3 separate regions of the Homo sapiens genome follow, and regions 1 and 3 are each linked to region 2. The links are contacts of gene promoters, found by promoter capture Hi-C in blood cells and fetal thymus (Javierre and others, 2016). All regions are on one chromosome and are shown on one strand. The core of a region is centred on a gene start or on the middle of the fragment in contact, and the rest is flanking DNA. Distances in the headings are between cores, read along the strand shown.

Region 1 (3,235 bases), core at 160-2,659, 34 kb after region 2:
GGCTTCCACTCAGGCACTGTGAATAAGGGCAGAGAGCAGGCAGGTTGCAGGGGACTCTACCCCAGCAATCACTTCAGGCCTCATGAACACCCTCAGCTGCAAGGGTCTAGAAGAGATCTGTTCTAGTTTTCTAGAGGCATGAACAATGCTCCACTCTGTGCTGGGGCTGGGTTATCCCTGTGGGAATTAGGGGGAGGGAGGAGGGAAGGAGCCAAAGGCATTTACTCATATCACCACCTTGGTCACCTGTCCAGTTATATTCTTGGACAGATGACTCTTGAGCAACAGAGTCATGTGCCTGGGGATGAGAAATGCAGGGGATGAGAAATTCTAGAATATGAGGGGGTGGAGAAGAACACCTTCCCCTGATCTTGGCAGGGCAGGGAGGATAGGACCATTTCTGCATCCTTCACATCTCCTGCAGCCTTGGTCTCACAGCTCTTCCCTTCCCCTAGAGCTAAACATTTGAATGAAAATAGCCATGAGCCAAATTTTTTAAAGAGACATTTTTGAATTTTCTTTCAACCATCAGATTCCAGCAAGTCTATTTAGCACTCAGTAATCGTTTGGGAACATTAAATGTGTGTGTGTGTGTGTGTGTGTGTGTGTGTGTGTGTGTGTGTGTGTGTTAAATAGAACGTGAGAGAACCAGCTATTTATGAAAAATTTCTAATGTATATTTTGCTTGTTGCCAATTGAATTCCTTGTGTATATGGCAAAAGTTAATATTATGAACCTAATTTGGTCTCTCTTCTGAGTAGAAAATTTTGAAATCTTTTAAGTTTTTCTCTCTCTTAAACACTTTCTCATAAATGAAATAGCTTTATTTAATTTTGTGCTTATAAGAATAACCCATGCTGAGGAGAGTGAATTAAATAAGATCAAAAAAATTTAAAAAAATAAAACCCCTATTTTAACTACTTGTGTCCCTACTTGACAATCCACCTTGTACCCATTATGAGAAGGTCTGGTTCACAGGCAGAATGAACATCAGTGGCTGCGTGTAGAATTAGATCGAGTAGGTGCCTTCGGATAAAAGGAGAGAAAGAAAAAAAATTCCTCTGAGATGTACCAATGGCCAATAGCTCTAGAAGAAGGTGCGGTCCCTCCCTGATAACCACGGAAGAATAAATACATACTACACAGAGAAAGGGCCACATTTGACCTGTGGGATTAGCAAAGACCAAAATGAGTGACAGGGCCCCGTGCTGTGGGGCGAGAGAGAGAGCTAAGCCGGGGTTGGGGGTGCTGAGGGCGCTCAGACGGACAGACTAGTGAAGGGAAGAAGTGGGCTGGCTCCTGACGCACTTTCTGCGGGTGGGAGGGGAACTAGGGACCCGAGCCCACTGGTGACGTTTTTCTCACGTGATCTGAAGCCGACGTGTGCAGAAGTCCCTCTCCTCCAGGTACCAGATCCCTGTTTCCGTGGAGGAAGGCAGACTTCAGACTGAAGGACAGAGAAGGCAACTGCCCTACAGCCCTGCAGGTCGGTACAAGCCGGGGACCCCTGAGGTAGGGATGGTAATGCACATAGGCTACAGAGGATCGGATCTGCTTTCTAGATACCGCCCTGTTCCACCCCCATTCATTTTGGCGCAGAAATTTTTTTGTGTTGGGCAAGAGGTATGGGTACCAGCTTTTATTTCCCTGGAGAAGTGCAGGCTTCTGGCAGAAGGAAATGTGAGAAAGAGTCATTTCCCCGAGATGGCTACGAACCCATCCACAGCCTGTGGATCCCTGTGGTTGGGATGGCAGAGGGCAAAGACCAGAGCGGGTCCAGGACTGGATTCTCTCCACTCCTTTCCCGATGCTCACTCATTTGGTGCAAGAAATGGAGGGCTTGGTGCGGGGCGGGGAGGGGGGAGGGGGGCGGAACTCGAGAGAGGTCAAGGGTTGAGAATTGGGTACCAGTTGGGAACTCCTAGGAAGCCGGCGACCGGGTGATGTCTGATGGAGGAGGAGGAGGACCAGGGAAGAGAACAGCGACGAAACGGCGAGAAAACGGCCTGATCCCTGCAAGGCAGCGGGAGGCGGGCACAGTCAGTGACCCCAGGCTGCTGAGGGCGGACCCTGCAACGGGTCCAGGCCTGAGTTCCCTGTGTCTTTTCTCCAACCTCCCTCCATTTTGGAGCCGGAAACGGTGGGCTAAGGGGGTCAGGGGAAGGAGGTGCTGTAGAAAAAGGGAGACAGAGGTTTGATCTGGGGATCAGCTCCCTATCCAGGAGGAGTGGCTTCTGAAGTAGGAGGATTGAGATGAGGTAGCAGCAAGACCAAAAATGTTACCGGGTTTGGAAATAATTTGTCTCTTGCATTGCAGAAAAATGTGGGCTTTCTGTGTATGTGGGGAGGGAGGAGGTGGCAGGAGTGTTTTGGACATTTCTGCCCTGCCCCCTATCTCTGTCATCACCATTTTCAGAGAAGTGGTGGGCTCTGCTATTTGGCTACCCTAGGGTGAGGGATTTGGAATGTAGAGATCTGAGTGCATCAGAACACTCTGTCTTCAGAACATCCTTGTCTCTAACCCTACTCATTTTCGTGCCAGAAAAGTGAGATAAAAATTTGGGAGGAAGATTCAGAAACATAGAAACGCTTTGGAAATAATCTTTCTCGCCTATTTCCCACAAGTAGAACAATGGAGGCTCTTAAGAAAGAGCTGCGCGCGGAGGGGGAATCAGAGAATGCAAGGGAAAAGGCGAGGAGGTGATAGGAGCTCGGAAAGTTTTGACAAATACGGTCCCAAAGAACCAGTGTCCAAGTTACCAGTCATTCACTTTCTCAATTTCTCATTCACCCACCTGTTTCTTGTCTTTCTGCAGGTCTTCAAGTCTGTGGTTGTGGGCACTAACCCAGACAAGAAAAGGAAAGACCTGCAGTATCGGTGCAGGTCAGTGGGAGAGGGCTACTGCACCAGGACCCTTGGGAGTAGGAGTAACTTAAGCCAGAGCAGAAGTTGGGGAGGCCACTGCCTGCCACCCCTCCTCCAATCCTCCCTCTTGCAGTTTCGGGATACATGACTGCTGTCAAGACCCTAAGGGGATATGGTGATCTATGGCTGGTGAGGATAGAGGGGAGAATAAGAAAGTAAGAGAATGGAGGTGTAGCATCTGTGATGCCCCCTGAGGACATAAGGGTAGCCCTGAAATCTGAGAACTGGCTATGGTTCTGTTCTGTCTGCAGTTTTATAAGTCTTACAACTGCATGCAAGGGGAAAAAGAAGAAAACTGCCCAGGATTTC
Region 2 (3,346 bases), core at 607-3,106:
TTCTGTTGGGAAAATTCCGAAAAGTGGAATTTCTAGGACATATGGTAAGTCTAACTTTTCAAGAAACTGCCACCAAGTCTCAGAGTGGTTGAACTTCTCACCAACAATCAGTGAGAGTTTCTGCTGTTTAGTATTTTCAAAAGTGCTTGGGACTGTCAGACTTTAAGTTCAGCAATTATAATGGGTGTGCAGTGATTTTTCATCCTGGCTTTATTTTACATTTCCCTGATAGTTAATGAGGTTGAACATCTTTTCATGAGCTCATTGGTAATTTGTGTGTGTAGTTTTGTGAAATGTTTATTCAGATCTTTTGATCATTTTTACTGCATTATTTGCCTTCTTATTTTATGTTTTCGAAGTTCTTTATATATGCTCTGAATTCAAAACCATTGTCAGATACAAATACTGTGAATATTTACTCCCAGCTTCTCACTTCATTTTCTTAACCATGTGTTTTAAATGGTAGAAGTTTTTAATTTGGATAAATCCAATTTCTTATTTTTTTCTTTTGTGATCTGTTCTTTTTGTGTCCTAAGGAATTGTTTTCTCAAAGATTGTAAAGTTTTTCTGTATGTTTTATTCTAGAAGTTTTCTAATTTGAGCTTTTACATTTAGGCCTAGGATCCATTTTGAATTAATTTGTGTATAGTATAAATAAAAGGCAAGGCTCCTTTTTTTCCTTTAAGAATTCTGTTATTTCAGCACCATTAGTTTAAAAGACTATACTTTCCATATAGAATTACTTTGATATCTTTGTCAAAAACTAATTAACAACATACGTATGGGTCTATTTCTGGAGTCTATTCTGTTCTATTGATCTACAGGTCTATGTTTACTACTACACTAACTTTATTATTACACCTTAAGTCTTGAAATAATATAATGTAACTCTCAAGATTTGTAGGATATTTTAAAAAAATTATTTGTCTATTCTAGGTCCTTTGCATTTTCAAATAAATTTATGAGTACGTTTGTAATATTTATCTTGTAGCTGCAACCTTCTTAAAATCAATTCTTACTCCTATAGTAGGTTTACCGTAGATGTCTCTGGATTTCCTAAATACATGATTACTTGATCTTTAAATAAAGACATACTTATCGTTTGAACCAGAAATTTGTGAAAAAGGCCTTTTTTTTCCTTTTAGTTATGAAAACCCAACAAGGTTCTGTAGCACTACAACTCACTAGCTCATTTCATAGAAGGGCCTCATGTGTCCAGGGGCCCCTCAAAAGGGGAGCCATCAGCTGCCCTGTCCTTTTCCAAGTTCTAAAAAAGCAGCTGCGTGTAGAGTCTATATTTATATAATGACTTAACAGGACAGGTGGTTGGGACATTTTGCCCAACTTTAATCCCGTCTTTCAAGTAAAAATAACTTTTTTTCCTTTTTAAAGAAGTATATTAATTTTTTGTGTTTTACAAAAGAAATAATACAGAAAAGGTATTAAGAATGAGAAAAGCCTACTCTCTTGTGCTCCTTTCCTGATACACCTCTTCCACTCATTTTAGTGGAGAGAAAACGGAGAATATTGGTAGGAGGACAGAAGGAGGTAGACAGGCAGAAGGAGGTGAATCCTGGGAGCCAAGGGCAGAGAGAGGCAAGTCCCCAGAGAAGTGGGAATGGCCAACAGCTCCCTGAGAAGATACCTTCCGTCCTTCCTGGGCAAGCAGGGGAAGTCTCAAGAATATACAGAGAAGGAAGAGTGGCAGAGCCCAGGCTGGGGATGTTAAAAGGGACTCCCGGTGAGGATGGGGGCGGGCCCGAAAGCACCACCTGACTCCGGGCTGCAGGAGGGGGCGTGGGACGGGGGCGGAGCCTCTGGCGATGACAACAGCCACACGTGATCGGCCAACACTGAGTCTTACCTCGTTGTGGCGTCAGAACCGCCGTCGCTCGCTCCCTTCTCGGCAGTGGTACCTGTTCCCGGTGTCCCTGAGGACGTGCGGGCCAGGTACGGCCCCGAAAGTAGGAAGCGGAGGGGGAGCAGGTAAGGGACCCGGAGGGGGTCCCTGGGGTTGGTGTGGGGGAGCAGCCCCGGCCTGCGGATGCCCCATCCCCGGGCAGCAGCGCGGAGACGCAGCCGGTCCACGATGCAGCCCCGGGGCCCCGCCGCGGGACCGCGAGCCTTGTGTGAGCGGAGGGGTGCCCGGCCCCGCGGGAGCCGGCGATCCTGAGGCTACGACCTTTCGGAAGCACCTGCCTCCGTCACCAGCGCAAGCTTTTCCAACACCCCTGCTCCGCCCTTCTTGATGCAGAAAATGGTGGTCAGCTTGGGGGGCTGGGCGGCTGAGGCGGGGGGCGAGAGCGGCTAGGAGGGCCCGGGCCCGGCGTGGGGAAGGGGCCGGGTGGCGGCGGGTCCTCTCTAGCGTTCCGCTGCAGCAGCCCCCACTCTTCCCACCCCGGCCGTCTGCAGGTTTGCGGGGCCAAGTGTTGCGGCGACGCACCTCACGTCGAGAATCGGGAGGAGGAGACTGCAAGGATAGGCCCAGGTCAGTGCGAGGGACGGTGGTGGGGAGGGGGTCAGAACATGAGGAAAGCCCAGTCTGAGACCCCAATCCGTGCCTTCACCCCCACACTTAGCAATCCCCCACCCCCACCCCTTCTTCGTCCTCCATTTTGGTGCCTGCAGAGGCCTGGAGATGGATCTGCAGAGAAGATGGTGGGCTTTGCGGGAGAGAAGGGCACAGACTGGCTCCCCTCGCCCCCCCGAGGGTACATGGGGCCTCTCTGGTGGAAAAAAAATGAAATTTAAAAAAGGCCTTTGAAATCCAGGGCTCTGAATTTTGAAAGGTGGGTAGTCGGGCCTCTGTCCTCGGTGCTGATCAGTTCACCAAGAATTGAGTCCATTTTCTCTCTGTCTCCTAGGAGTAATGGAGTCCAAAGAGGAACGAGCGTTAAACAATCTCATCGTGGAAAATGTCAACCAGGAAAATGATGAAAAAGATGAAAAGGAGCAAGTTGCTAATAAAGGGGAGCCCTTGGCCCTACCTTTGAATGTTAGTGAATACTGTGTGCCTAGAGGAAACCGTAGGCGGTTCCGCGTTAGGCAGCCCATCCTGCAGTATAGATGGGACATAATGCATAGGCTTGGAGAGCCACAGGCAAGGATGAGAGAGGAGAATATGGAAAGGATTGGGGAGGAGGTGAGACAGCTGATGGAAAAGCTGAGGGAAAAGCAGTTGAGTCATAGTTTGCGGGCAGTCAGCACTGATCCCCCTCACCATGACCATCACGATGAGTTTTGCCTTATGCCCTGAATCCTGATGGTTTCCCTGAAGTTAATAGGGAGACCCCTGCTTCCTAAACTTACACATTTGTGGTGTACCTTTGTCGTAAACGTTTTGATG
Region 3 (3,453 bases), core at 734-3,233, 46 kb before region 2:
ATAAACTAATACGTGCTGCTTGTTGCTTCTTTTTTATAAAACTTTTATTATTCTAGCAATAATAATGTGTGTTAATTTTAGGAATATAGAAAATACAAACAAGCAAAAGGAGAAAAATCATTCATAATCCCACCACCGAGAGGCTGTACTTTCTTTCATCCTTCACAAGTTATGTCCATATATGTAATATACAAATGTACTTTTTACCTTTCAAAAATATGATATTCACATATTACTTAGCCTTTTTCCATTTTATATCTTACCAAGAACCTCTTTTTTACAAATGTGTAAAGTTCTTTTATTAAAAGACAGAGACTTGTAGATTGGTTCAAAATACAATAAACAATGAGATGCAGATAACAAGAGATACATCTAAAACCATTAATAGCAACAGGTTATAAGTAGAAATATGGACAAAGGAATATCAGGAAATGCTAATAAAAAGCAAGCTATATGGTATTGTTAATATCAGATAAAAATCAAGGTAAACTACATTAAATAGGGGTAAGGATGGTTTCGATTAACCTTCCAACGCATCACTATAAGTTTGTTTCTGACTCTCCTTATCTCATCTATTTCATCCACTTCTCTAAACATATCTTCATTGCTTAAATGCCTGTTGTGTATATCTTCTTTAAACTCCTGGAGAGATTGAATCAGCCTTTCTCTAAAAGTTCCTTTTGCTTTGGCCTCCTCCTCTAGCTTCTCCTCCTCTTCTGGCTTTTCCTCAGGCTTTGGCTCTTCCTCATGCTTTGGTTCACTCTCATTTTCTGGTTTTCCTTCCATTTTTTGACAGGATTTCATCTTGTATCTGTCTACCTCTCTTCCTTCCTTCTTTTCTTTCTTGCTTATTCTTCTTTGAATACAATGACTTCTAGAAAGCAAAAAGAAGACAGTAAGTTAAAGACTTGGTGAGTGGACAGGTGCTGTGGACAGAGGCCTTAGCATTTAATTTTTTTTATTCAGAGCTGTTATAAAATATCTTCCACCTAAGAAGCCCAGTCAGCAATCAGAGCTTCACTATCCCCACTCCTTTTACCTCCACTTTCCACCTCCTCACTTCTCTCTTGTCCTTCCCTCTAACCTTTTCCAAGGCCCTCCTTTCCGCCGTCCAGCCCTCCCCAGACCTTTTTCCCCCATAGGGCCTAACACAGGGACCAGGCCAGAAAAGAGAAAGGTGGCTGGCAGGCAGAGGAAGAGGGGAAAGGAGAAGGGGGAGAGAAAAGAAGAGGGGAAAGGGGTGGGGTGGAAGGGAGCCGGCAGGAACGGTGGCGCTTACAACCTTTGTCTCCACCCCAGGAGACTTTATAATATTCCTCTCACCTACCTGGCACTGATCGGGTCAGTTTCTTCCTCCTCCTTTTCTAGCTTTGGGTCTTGCTGGAAACAACAGCCCTGCAGATAAACTGGAAACGGGAGGGGACGGTGGGGGTGGGGCGAGCGCTTGGTGGGCCGACCAGCGCCAGAGACTGACACACGTAGCTTTCCTCCTTTAGGGTTTCGGATATGGAAAGTTTCCCACCTTTTGTTTCCCCTAGTTCACCCCCTCTCCACAGTGCATGCAAGTCAGTTCGTTTTTCCCATCAGACAAAGAGTGAGAAAGCAGATTATTTCCAAACTATCTTTAAGACTGAGGCGGGGTTCGGGAGGAGGGTGGGGGTCCGGAAAGCAGTCTTAGATAGCAGAGGATGATTATTTTTAAACTACCACAGGTCTCCCTGTTCTTCTCCTAGGACCCCTAGTCCCTTTCCCAAGGGTCATCAGTTCCCGTAGACCTGGAGGTGGAGGGTGGAGGGACGGACCTGACCGGCACTCCCACAAGTCTCTGCCTTAAACCCCCCCACACTAGAAATCCCCAGTCAACACCTACAGTGACACCAACCTGCAAAATTCCCGCAAGTTTGACTCCTTCCACGGGCCTCAGGGACCACCGCCTGCGCTGCTGAAGGAAGCTGGTATCCAGACGGGAACAAGGACCAGATTACCAGGACTTCTGCACACGTCGACTCCTGGTCACATGAGATCTACGTCACCAGTGAGCTCGGGTCCCTAATTTCCACTCCCACCAAAAGCGCGGCAGAAGTGGGCCCACCCTCTCTCCCTCCCCGCCCCCCACTTATACATTTGGCCCTGTCAGTCTTTTCTGTTGTTTCCTATCCCAGCGGGAAAAATGTTATTTGCTTGACTCTGATTACTAGGGAGGGGCTACCTCTTTTTCTGGAGCTACTGAACTTTTCTACTTCTTTCGAGAATTGTCTCTTCCATTCTTCCACTCCCAGGATAACTCCTCCATCAGTCGTCCCTCCTCTAGCCTCCATTTCCTCTGCAATCTGGTTCTTAGCTGTTGTAGAGCAGGGTGGCCTTGGCAGCAGTTGTGAAACAACAACAAAAAAAGACCCTGGAACAAGAGTGAGATTTCTGAATGCAATTTTTACTTTTTATTTTTCGTACTTCTATATCCTTTTTAAAAAGGTAACTTTAATCTCTCTCTCTCTCTCTCTCTCTCTTCTTTTTTCTGTCTTTCTTTCTCTTTTTTTTTTTTGAGACAGGGTCTCACTCTGTTGCCCAGGCTGGGTTGCAGTGGTGCGATCACAGCTCACTGCAGCCTCAAACTCCTCGAAACGAGTGATCCTCTTGCCTCAGACTCCCAAGTATCTGGGACTACAGGTGTGTGCCACCATGTCCAGCTAGTCTTTTAATTTTTTTGTAGAGACAGGGTCTATGTTCCCCAAGCTGGTCTCGAACTCCTGGGCTCAAGTGATCCTCCTGCCTCAACCTCCCAAAGGGCTGGAATTACAGGCCTGAGCCACTGCACTGGGCAACTTTTATCTTTTTATAGTCAGAAAAGACAAAGAAAAAATTACTTTAATGACATGAGTTAATACATGTACAGTGCTTATTGTACATGTGGCATATAGTAAGTGCTTTTAAAGTGAAAGCTGTTGTGATATTAGAAGTTTTGTGAGGAAAATGATACAGAATTTTTTAAAAAAGAGTAATGTTTCATTCCAGAGTCCTCATGGTGGTGTTACCAGGAAGCTGTGCTGCCTGAAGAATCATCAATTAATCGTCAGGTACACATTGTGAACCTGAGTTTCCTCATCTGAAAGAAGGGAATAATAGCATATGCTCATAGAATTGAGATCTATTGAAAATAAAAATAAGAGTTAATTTTTCATCTGTACAATTAGAAAAGACAAATATTGATTATATTCAGAGTTGATGAGCATATGGTAAAACAAATATTCACATGTACTGTGAGACTATTAAGTAGTACAACATTTTTGGAAGTCATTTTGGCAATATCAAACTTTAGAAGATATGTGCTTTTGGACACATCAATTCCTCTTCTAGAGATTTATCATACATTAATACTCCTATGCCAAATATGGTCATTGTAGTAGTTGTGGCAATAGTGTTTTTTTTAAAGAGCCAAAAACTTATATGTTTCTA

The links. The method cuts DNA at HindIII sites, captures the fragments that hold promoters and counts their contacts. A CHiCAGO score of 5 or more calls a contact.
Region 1: a contact is called between the fragment with the promoter of TCEAL5 here and the fragment with the promoter of BEX2 in region 2, in 1 of 17 cell types (fetal thymus). The highest score is 6.3, in fetal thymus.
Region 3: the fragment with the promoter of TCEAL9 here is called in contact with the fragment with the promoter of BEX2 in region 2 in 1 of 17 cell types (erythroblasts); the score reaches 5.8 in erythroblasts.

The regions. Positions count from the first base shown.
Region 1 is chrX:103,274,924-103,278,158 of GRCh38, reverse strand. It overlaps TCEAL5 (transcription elongation factor A like 5), which reads left to right and starts at 1,409. Exons shown (of 3, transcript NM_001012979.3): 1 at 1,409-1,486; 2 at 2,817-2,884. The HindIII fragment of the contact is 11,652 bases long and covers 1-3,235 here.
Region 2 is chrX:103,309,500-103,312,845 of GRCh38, reverse strand. BEX2 (brain expressed X-linked 2) reads left to right here and starts at 1,856. Exons shown (of 3, transcript NM_032621.4): 1 at 1,856-1,986; 2 at 2,413-2,488; 3 at 2,865-3,346. The coding sequence starts at 2,870. The coding sequence ends at 3,256. RefSeq lists a silencer at 2,031-2,120. The HindIII fragment of the contact is 10,238 bases long and covers 1-2,219 here.
Region 3 is chrX:103,355,036-103,358,488 of GRCh38, reverse strand. It overlaps TCEAL9 (transcription elongation factor A like 9), which reads right to left and starts at 1,983. Exons shown (of 3, transcript NM_016303.3): 1 at 1,883-1,983; 2 at 1,328-1,406; 3 at 27-874. The coding sequence starts at 804. The coding sequence ends at 490. It overlaps LOC124905204 (a long non-coding RNA gene), which reads left to right and starts at 1,925. Exons shown (of 2, transcript XR_007068284.1): 1 at 1,925-2,035; 2 at 3,013-3,453. RefSeq lists an enhancer at 1,331-2,530. The HindIII fragment of the contact is 9,435 bases long and covers 1-3,453 here.